Linked DNA regions of Homo sapiens: all the other regions are linked to region 2. The links are contacts of gene promoters, found by promoter capture Hi-C in blood cells and fetal thymus (Javierre and others, 2016). All regions are on one chromosome and are shown on one strand. The core of a region is centred on a gene start or on the middle of the fragment in contact, and the rest is flanking DNA. Distances in the headings are between cores, read along the strand shown.

Evidence for each region. The method cuts DNA at HindIII sites, captures the fragments that hold promoters and counts their contacts. A CHiCAGO score of 5 or more calls a contact.
Region 1: a contact is called between a fragment that was not itself captured here and the fragment with the promoter of LAMB4 in region 2, in 3 of 17 cell types (endothelial precursors, naive B cells and fetal thymus). The highest score is 7.6, in endothelial precursors.
Region 3: a contact is called between a fragment that was not itself captured here and the fragment with the promoter of LAMB4 in region 2, in 6 of 17 cell types (endothelial precursors, M2 macrophages, total B cells and 3 more). The highest score is 9.1, in endothelial precursors.

Annotation. Positions count from the first base shown.
Region 1 is chr7:108,472,185-108,475,579 of GRCh38, reverse strand. It overlaps PNPLA8 (patatin like domain 8, phospholipase A2), which reads left to right. Exons shown (of 11, transcript NM_001256007.3): 11 at 2,905-3,395. The coding sequence ends at 3,179. Among named protein-coding and RNA genes, the nearest start is that of NRCAM, 17 kb to the right of the region's middle. The HindIII fragment of the contact is 2,794 bases long and covers 611-3,395 here.
Region 2 is chr7:108,129,007-108,132,265 of GRCh38, reverse strand. It overlaps LAMB4 (laminin subunit beta 4), which reads left to right and starts at 1,905. Exons shown (of 34, transcript NM_007356.3): 1 at 1,905-1,960. The HindIII fragment of the contact is 5,422 bases long and covers 1,028-3,259 here.
Region 3 is chr7:108,489,578-108,492,960 of GRCh38, reverse strand. PNPLA8 (patatin like domain 8, phospholipase A2) reads left to right here. Exons shown (of 11, transcript NM_001256007.3): 8 at 1,494-1,551. Among named protein-coding and RNA genes, the nearest start is that of NRCAM, 35 kb to the right of the region's middle. The HindIII fragment of the contact is 536 bases long and covers 1,023-1,558 here.

The DNA of each region.
Region 1 (3,395 bases), core at 758-3,257, 340 kb before region 2:
CCTAAATAAATCAATACATGTACTGTGTTCATGAATTGGAAATCTCAATATTGTTAAGGTATCACATCACAAATTGATATGTAGATTCAATACAATTCCTGTCAAAATCCAAGCAGGCTTTTGAGGGATAGAGATTAACAAGCTGACTGTAAAATGTATATGGATATGCAAAGGACCCAGAATAGTGGTCTCCAACCTCTTTGGTCCCAAGGACTGGTTTCGTGGAAGATAGTTTTTCCGCACATGGGGGCGGGGAGGGGAGGGATGGTTTTGGGATAATTCAAGCACATTACATTTATTGTGTACTTTATTTCTAGTATTATTACATTGTAATATATAATAAGTATACAGCTCACCATAATGTAGAATTGGGAGCCCTGAGCTTGTTTTCCTCCAACTAGATGGTCTTATCTAGGGATGATGGGAGACAGTGACAGATCATCAGGCATTAGATTCACCTAAGGAGCACGCAACCTAGATCCCTTGCATGCTCAGTTCACAATAGGGTTTGCAGTCTTATGAGAATCTCATGCCACCACTGATCTGACAGGAGGTGGAGCTGAGGCAGTAATGCAAGCGATGGAGAGTGGCTGTATATACAGATGAAGCTTTGCTTACTGGCCCTGCCACTCACCCCCTGCTGTGCAGCCCATGGGTTGGGGACCCCTGACCTAGAATATCTGACACAATTTTGAAAAAGAAAAAAAAGTTGGAGGACTTACATCTGCTGATTTAAAGACTATAAAACTACATTAAGCAAGGAACTGTGGTGTTTGAATAAAGATAGACATATAAATCAATGGTATGTAATAGAGAGTCCAGAAATTGATTTATACATGTAAACTCAAAAGACTTTTTACAAAGATGCTAAGGTAACTCAGTGGGAAAGGACAGTCTTTTCAACAAATGGTCCGGGACTATTAGATACCTGTATCCACAGCGTTGACCTTGACCCTTTGCACCATACACAAAAGTAACTTGGAATGCATCACAGTCGTTCATGGCTAATATGCAGAAATACAACTGATTTTTCTTATTGACCTTATATAACTTCAAACTTGCTAAACTCACTTATTCTAGTAGCTTTCTATAGCTTTCTCAAAATTGTCAACATAGGCAACCAGGTTGTCTATAGAGTTTTACTTCCTTTTTAATCTACATGCCCTTCATTTCCTTTTAATGCTTTACGGCACTGAAAAGGACCCTCCAGTACAATGCTTACTGGAAGGTGTGAGACTAGACATCTTACCCTGTTCCTGATCTTAGATGGAAACCTGAATCTAAGAGCTGAAACTATAAAACATATAGAAGAATATGCTGGAGAAAATCTTAATGACCTTGGGTAAAGATTTTTTTAGATAGGACATAGAAAATATGAATCAGAAAGGAAAGAAAGAGATAAATTAGACTTCAAATTACAAATTCTGCTCTTTAAAAGGTACTTTTTATAAAATGAAAAGGCAAGTCATACACTAAAATATTGATAAAACATGCATCTGACCCATCATGAGGTATAATATATAATCAAGTTCAAAATATATAGAGAATTCTCATATAACATATGTATGTATATATATATAAAATAATAGGCTGGGTATGGTGGTTCACACCTGTAATCCCAGCACTTTGGGTGGATCGGTTGAGCCCAGAAGTTTGAGACCAGCCTGGTCAATATAGTGAGATCCCATCTCTACAGAAAAATAAAAAACTATCTGGGCATGGTGGCACACACCTGTAGTCCCAGCTACTTGGGAGGCTGAGGCAGGAGGATCACTTGAGCCCAGGAGTTCGAGGTTGCGGTGAGCCATGATTGCACCACTGTCATATATATAGGACACAGCAATTCAGTGAAAAAACTGGGCAAAAGATTTAAACAGACACTTCATTAAAGAAGATATACAAATGACTAATAAGTACATGAAAACCTTCTCAACATAATTAGTCATTAGGGAAATAAAAATTAAACCACAAGATACCACTACCTCTATAATGCAAAACTTAAGACTTGACATACTAACTTTGGGCAAAGATGTAGAGCAGTGAGAACTCTAATATATTAGTGGTTGGAATACAAAAATGGAAGACAGTGTGGCAGGTTTTTTTTAAAATAAGCATACCCTTTACCATATGAACCAGCAATTTTATTCCTAGGTTTTTGCCCAAGGGAAATGCAATCATATGCACATGAAGACTTATGTGTAAATGTTTATAATCGGGTTATTTCTAGTAGCTAAAAACTGAAGAGAGCCAGACCAGAACTGCAGAGAACAAATTGTGTTGTATCTATACAATGGAACACCATTTAGCAATGAAAAGAAAGGAACTATTGATATATGCTACAACATGGATGAATCTCAAAAGTATTTTGTCCATAAAAGAAGGTAGATACTTTTGATTCTGTTTGTATGAAATTCTAGGAAAGGGAAAGTGGGCACCAACTATAAAGAGGCTTAAAGGAACTTTTTACAGTGATGGAAATGGCTATGTCATGATTATTGTTGTGCTTACACAAGTGTATACATTTGTCAAAACTTGTCAAACTATACAGTTAAAATTGGTGAGTTGCACTGGATGTAAATGATATGTCAATGAAGTTGATCCCAAAAAAAAGGAAAGTTGGAAAGGGCATTTCAGCAGTGGTGAACAGTATGACCAAAAGCACAGAGAGAATAGAAGAAGTATACTAATTTCACAGAATAATGTATTTTGGAAGATGAATTTTATCTTATAGTTTTACCCATTATTATGGATTACTTCTACTGTCAGTTTGAATAATGAAATTAGTGAATCTTTGTAATGTGCCTAAAAAGAAGTTAATTTTAAATAAAGACAAATTAACAGTTCATTGCTCACTTTATCCCCTCTTTTCTTATCCCCTTATCCTTTTCTTTTTTGCTTTAACAGAAGTCCATATAATGCTTGATGGCCTGTTACCTCCTGACACCTATTTTAGATTCAATCCTGTAATGTGTGAAAACATACCTCTAGATGAAAGTCGAAATGAAAAGCTGGATCAGCTGCAGTTGGAAGGGTTGAAATACATAGAAAGAAATGAACAAAAAATGAAAAAAGTTGCAAAAATATTAAGTCAAGAAAAAACAACTCTGCAGAAAATTAATGATTGGATAAAATTAAAAACTGATATGTATGAAGGACTTCCATTCTTTTCAAAATTGTGATGAGTATATGCTTATGTTCTCATAAATGAAGGTCTGTTTAGAAGATCAACCACATTCAATAAGGAATTGTGGGGTTCGACATGAGTTAACTTTGAAATACGTATGAATTCTGGAGAATCCTGAAAAAGACGGTGCTTCAACCAGCTTGCATAGCACAGAGAATATTCTTGGTTACAGAATTCATATGGGAACTAGGCTTTTAAGATGTTAATAATT
Region 2 (3,259 bases), core at 656-3,155:
CAAAAAATTTGAGGCTTTCAAGGATTTTTACTTTCTTTTTCCTTTGAATTTTTATATTGTCCGATTTTGGGTAAAAGAGCATATACTACTCTCCAGGAAAAGCAATAAAGCTATTTTCCTTTTAATAAAAAAGATATCAACACTTTAAGGAGAGCTATACTGAAAGACTGCTTCTGATTAACTGATAGACTGATCTTTTAGTTGCATGGGAAAATTATTTTTCTTGAAAATATATCCTGCCTGACAGCTTCTAACTCTACACCTAATCTTAAGAGGTAAATAGTTAACTCATTGAGATGAAAGCAGATACCCCAAGACATGCCATCAGTTTACAGGAAAACAGCCTACGATAACCTATTCATGATTATTTAAAGGGAAATTTTTGAAATTTGAACCATGTAACTTTGATTCTCGTCATAAAACTGGAGACACATATAACAGGAAAACCCCTCAAGATATAATCAAATCACTCAAGAATGCAACAAGCTTTTAAAATTTACATATCTCAAAAGGCAAAAAAGACAATATGAAATTCCAATGTTTGAAATAAGTTTAAAAATTATATAAATTTTAATGCCTAGAGTTTATGCTTTGCACAATAATTTAAGAGTCTAAAGGGAAAATAGTATTGGTCTAATAAAACAGATCACAAACCCGTCAATTGAACAAACTGAAAGTCCCTTGATTTCACTCACACACTTTGCTGAAGTATCCACCTAAAAACCAAATACTGCTCTTTGGTCTCCTACCACCTGGTACTTTGTGGCAGCTGTTGGCTTGTAAAAAATAAATAAAACAAGTTAGTTTAGCAAATATTGACTGCAAGCTTCTTCTATACTTCATCCTAAAATGGAAAAGACATGTTCCTGCCCTCTTGGAGTTTGCTTTCTAGTACATCAGAAGTGAGCAGATGAACCTGACCTATAGGGAACAAAATTAAAAACAGTGGCATCGATGGAAAAATAGAGCAATAAATTAAAACACAAATAACAGGTAAGAAGCATTGAAAAATACCCTTGAAAAAGCTTAAAGGCCTGTAAGAGTGGTATTTGGTGAAAGTTTGTTGAATCTATTTCCTGATTTGTAAATGTTGTGTAAAAATGAGCATCTCATTTTGGCTCAGTTCACAATCATTTTTCTTCCCTAAGGGTATTTTCCATGAGCTTCTAGAAATCCTAAATGTTTTTTCAAGCAACCAATAAACTTACCCATTGAAACTGCACAGATTTGAAATGGAGATATTAATCCACTGACAAGTGAATAAAATGTAAGATTGCTGTAGGTTCATTTCTATACTATAAACCTTCCTCGTAGGAGAATGAAATTTCAAACCACATGGATTCCAAAACCACTTAAACTTGCCATTCCCACAATGGTTAGTTGTACTTGCCGAATCACAAGGTAAACAGAAATCTATGAGCCATTTAAGATGATCTTGAGCCAGGTAGGACTGGTCAGAGCCTTGGGAACCCATCTGAAACTATTCCACCTGGTCCGCCTGAAAGTAGATTGGGATGGAGTCAGGGGTCTCACATTCCTGAGAAACAAGCCCATCTAATTCCGCACATTTTATAGCTGGTAAGTATCAAGCTGTCTGAAAATGACCGCTAAAACATGAACCAGAAAAACATAAATAAATCAGGGAACAAAATGTCTGTGCATTATTCCTGGCTATTAAAATTGGTTTTAGAGAAAACAAGAAAAATATTTGCTGTAAAACTGAGCTCTATTTCCCTGTTTATGTGTGTGTGTGGGTGTGTGTGTGTGTATAAGTTAAAACTTAAGTGACTTCACAAATCACCTTTTTGACAGGCATTGGAATACCTCTTGTCTTTTTTTTTCCCTACTTTTAGGTGCCTCGGGGAGAATGTTTTCTACATAAACTGGCTCTAACTTTCAGGTGTGTCTTCACATGCCCCGTTTGCTGCCTGAACCTCTCCACAAAGACTCCCAGATCCTGGTAAGTCTTGCCTGCTCTCTCACTAGCAAATTGGCATTTTTATGGATTAAATGAAGGTATTAGAATTTAGGGGGTAAGTGGAGTTGTCATAAAGTAAGAAATGGGACATATTAGCACATAGATTACTATTACTTTTACAGAATGATAGTCCAATGACACTTAAATAAAGGTTCTTGCAACATAAAACAGTATCCAATGGGAAAATTGATGTTAGTGCATTGTGATATGAAGCCAACAACTTGAGCCTTACTGTACCTTGAAGGGAGCTTCAAATGATGTAGTGTTGAAATGTACAACTGTATTGTGTTTTCAGCAAATGTTTGTTTTTGTTATGGTTATAAAACTTATGACAACTTATAAAAGTTTAAATGCATTAGAACTACCCATATTTTCAAAATATTTTGTTAATGTTCTAGATATGTGTAAATATTGTTTTAAGAAAAGCAAGTCTGCTATAACTAAAAGAAACATAAACTTGGCCGGGCATGGTGGCTCATGCCTGTAATCCCAGCCCTCTGGGAGGCCGAGGCAGGCAAATTGCTTGAGCTCAGGAGGTCAAGACCAGCCTGAGCAACATGGCGAAACCCCATCTCTGTAAAAACTATACAGCCGTAGTGGCACATGCCTGTAATCCCAGCTACTCAGGAGGTTGAGATGGAAGGACTGCTTAAGCATGGGAGGTTGAGGTTGCAGTGAACCAAGAATGTGCCACTGTACTACAGCCTGGGTGACAGAGGAAGACTCTGTCTCCAAAAAAAAAAAAAAAGTAAACTTTATAGTTCTGTATTCTGCATTCCTCACTATGATGAAATTTAGGCAAAACAGTTGAAATATCTAATGAGTCCTGACATAACATGAAAAAAAGTTAGACAAAGGAAAGTTAAATACAAGATTTCTGAGAACTGTCACTTTATAGACAATTATTTGTGTACCAGAAAAAGTCTTAAGGGCTAATATAAATGTATTTATAATTATCTTCTGTGTTATAAATTACTGTCCAATTTGCAGAAGAAAGGTGCTGTAGTAGAAACAGGAGCGGAATGCATGTCTTTCCTGCGGAGAGGCTCTTATCAAACACGATGCACCTGTGGTTCTAGGAGCTGGGCAAATGGGCACCACATGGCCCTTTTCTCTTCATCTGTTTCATCCAAATTGTTTTGACAAAAAAGAGTAAACTCTTTGCAGCCTTCAAGTGAGAGCAGATGAGGCAAATATAAGTGAATGGTCAGTAAATTAAATAAATTAGCAATGCCAGAAAGTTACTTTCAGTCTAATATATTTCACTGTTTATTGCAACAC
Region 3 (3,383 bases), core at 41-2,540, 360 kb before region 2:
CAGAGTTCCCAGAGAGCAAGCCCCAGTGCATAAGCACTTATCAAGCCTCAGTTTAATGGCATGTTTGTTGAGGTCACATGGACGAAAGCCATGCCAACCAAGAGTCTGTATAGGAAGAGACTGTATACAATGACATGGATACCAGGACTGTGATTCACTGGGTGCCAGTATTGTTAATATTCTTCTATATCTACCTTCTGGCCTTTTTTGTCGTAGCATTTTTTCGCCCATTGTTTATTGAGAGGACTTTTATTTATTTATTTATTTTGCTGTGATAATTTTGTGTTATTTTAAGGGAACTATTTTATGCCATCAGTAGAATCTAGGCATGTTGATTTTTTTTTCATATTTTGACATCTCGGAAATAAACAATTACCATTGCTTTTTTTACAAGTTTATATTCATAAGTGAATTCACTAAAAGCATTTTAGGTTTTGAGAAAACCAAGATTTAAACAAATATAAAAATAAATAAATATGAACTTTGCCAAAAAGTGTGAAATCAGCATGCTCCTAGGATTTCTCTTGTAATTTTACAGTAAGAATTCTGTGAAAAGACAAAGAACCTTAAAAAGATAAAATGCATTGATCTTTATGTAGTAGAAATGTATAGATCAGGTTGGGAAAGACAAAAGATCTTGTCCATTTTGGAAAGTATTTTACATTGATATTTATTAAAGCTTATAAAGGGTAGATCACTGAGCAGTTTGTAAATATTCTTTTTATGAAGTTCACTAATATTCTAGTTGGGAAACATGAGTATTGTTTGAAAAACACATTAGAAAATGGTTTTACTCATGAGGAAGGCTGGTGAAACCATAGTCTTTGTATTCAATATAGGGAAAATACATAATTTTTAAGTCTGGAAAAGTCTGCATTGAAATAAAATTCTCTTATTATGGAATTGCAAAAATTGCTGCCCAAGGACAATTTCTGTAATGTCATAGTAATTCAAATGCCAACTCTGATGATTTTCAAAGCCATTTTCTTGATGACATTGGCTGTTACCAACTAAAACAAGCTTAAAGTCTCATTGTCCTCACCTGGTTACTCTAACTAGCCCGTGCATACTTCTGCAGTCTTATCTCAACACAGCTCCTTTATCCTATTGGCAGGACCCTGAAAACAACAGATTTATTTTGCCTTTGTGCCTTTAATCTGTATATGTCCTAGCTTTAAATATGTTGCCTTGCAGTCTTTCAATGTCTTCCTCCAGCAACCTTCCTGCATCTTTTCCAGTTACTGCCCCTCTGTTCGTTGCTCCACCTCAGAACTGTAGATACTTGCAGTTTGAATCAGAGGTTGATAAATAACTGCATATTGTTTCATGTGCATTAATGGAATTATAAGCCTCCTAGAGGAGAGTCTTACATGTTTTCCTTCATAGCACTTTGACAAAGCCATGGACAAATAGTAATTGCATACTGTATGTTTCCTGGTTGTTAGGAGATAAAGTCATTTTGATATAACTTATTTTTTTCTCCTTTAATAAAGGGATAGGATGGGATCTGCACTGATGATTGAAACAGCAAGAAACCCCACATGTCCTAAGGTAAGCTTAGAGTCTCTTAAATATAACACCTAGTTCCATCTGAAGGTCTGGTGAAAGCACTTGTCCTGAGGGCCATTTTATTTTATTTTATTTTTATTTTTTGAGACAGAGTTTCACTCTTATTGCCCAGGCTGGAGTGCAATAGCACGATCTCGGCTCACCATAACCTCCGTCTCCCAGGTTCAAGTGATTCTCCTGCCTCAGCCTCCCAAGTAGCTGGGATTACAGGCATGCACCACCACGCCTGGCTAATTTTTTTGTATTTTTAGTAGAGACAGGGTTTCTTCATGTTGGTCAGGCTGGTCTCAAACTCCCAAACTCAGGTGATCTGCCCGCCTTGGCCTCCCAAAGTGCTGGGATTACAGGCATGAGCCATCGTGCCCGGCCCTGAGGGCCCTTTTATTAAGGTATTACAGATTGTATTAATTCTTTATATATTGAGTCATTCTATGAAGAGATGGGATATCATCCTTATACCTTTTATAAATTCGGTAAAACTATACCAGAAATGGAAGAACATGAAAGATGGACTGAAAATAAGAATTATTTCATCATAATTTTAAAAATCAAATCTAGTGATTTAAGGAACATTATGACATTTTTTACCCTAGTTTTTTTTTTTTTTTGAGACGGAGTCTTGCTCTGTCGCCCAGGCTGGAGTGCAGTGGCACAATCTCGGCTCACTGCAAGCTCCGCCTCCCGGGCTCACGCCATTCTCCTGCCTCAGCCTCCCAAGTAGCTGGGACTATAGGCAGCCGCCACCACGCCCGGCTAATTTTTTGTATTTTTTAGTAGAGACAGGGTTTCACCATGTTAGCCAGGATAGTCTCGATCTCCTGACCTCGTGATTCGCCCACCTCAGCCTCCCAAAGTGCTGGGATTACGGGCGTGAGCCACCGCGCCCAGCCTTCTTACCCTAGATTTTTAAAGAGAAATTTTATATGCCTCTTAGATACAATACAATCATGCATCACTTAATGATAGGGATACATTCTGAGAAGTGTGTCATTAGATTATTTTGTCATTGTGCAAGTATTATAGAGTGTACTTAGACATACTTAGATGGTATAGCCTACTACACATGTAGGCTAAATGGTATAGCCTATAGTTCCTAGGCTATAAACCTGTGTTATAGAGTGTACTTAGACATACTTAGATGGTATAGCCTACTACACATGTAGGCTAAATGGTATAGCCTATAGTTCCTAGGCTATAAACCTGTACAGCAGGTGACTATACTGAATACTGTAGGCAATTGTGACACAATGATAAGAATACTTACGTATCTACAGATATACAAATATCTAGATAAAAAATATCTATAGAAAGATACAGTGAAAAATACAGCATAGAAGCCCGTTTATAGTCTTATGGGACCACTGTTGTATATGCGGTCCATCATTGACCAAAACATTGATATGCAATGCATGACTATATTAGATTATATTATTATAAAAATTGAATCCCCATTAAAATTGTAATGTCACTTAGATGTGTCTCAATGTGGCTCTTCATTTATTTGTGTGTTTGAAACCCAATGATCTGAGTGTTGCTTGAGTTCTGTTTAATATTACTTGTTTAAAGAATAGAATTTATGTGCCTAGAAATTTCATGCAGCTTGTATTTATTCTCAGATAACGAACTGTAACCATGAAAAATCAAACAAGTGCAGCTCTTTCTGTTGCTCTTAACTATGGCATACTCATACTTTGATTCATTCTGCAAGTATTAATTATACACCCACTGCTAGGCACTTTGGATTCATTTGTGGGCAAATGCAGACATGGGGTTCACAGCTCTGTAGGGCAACATAGGTATTAATGAAATAATCA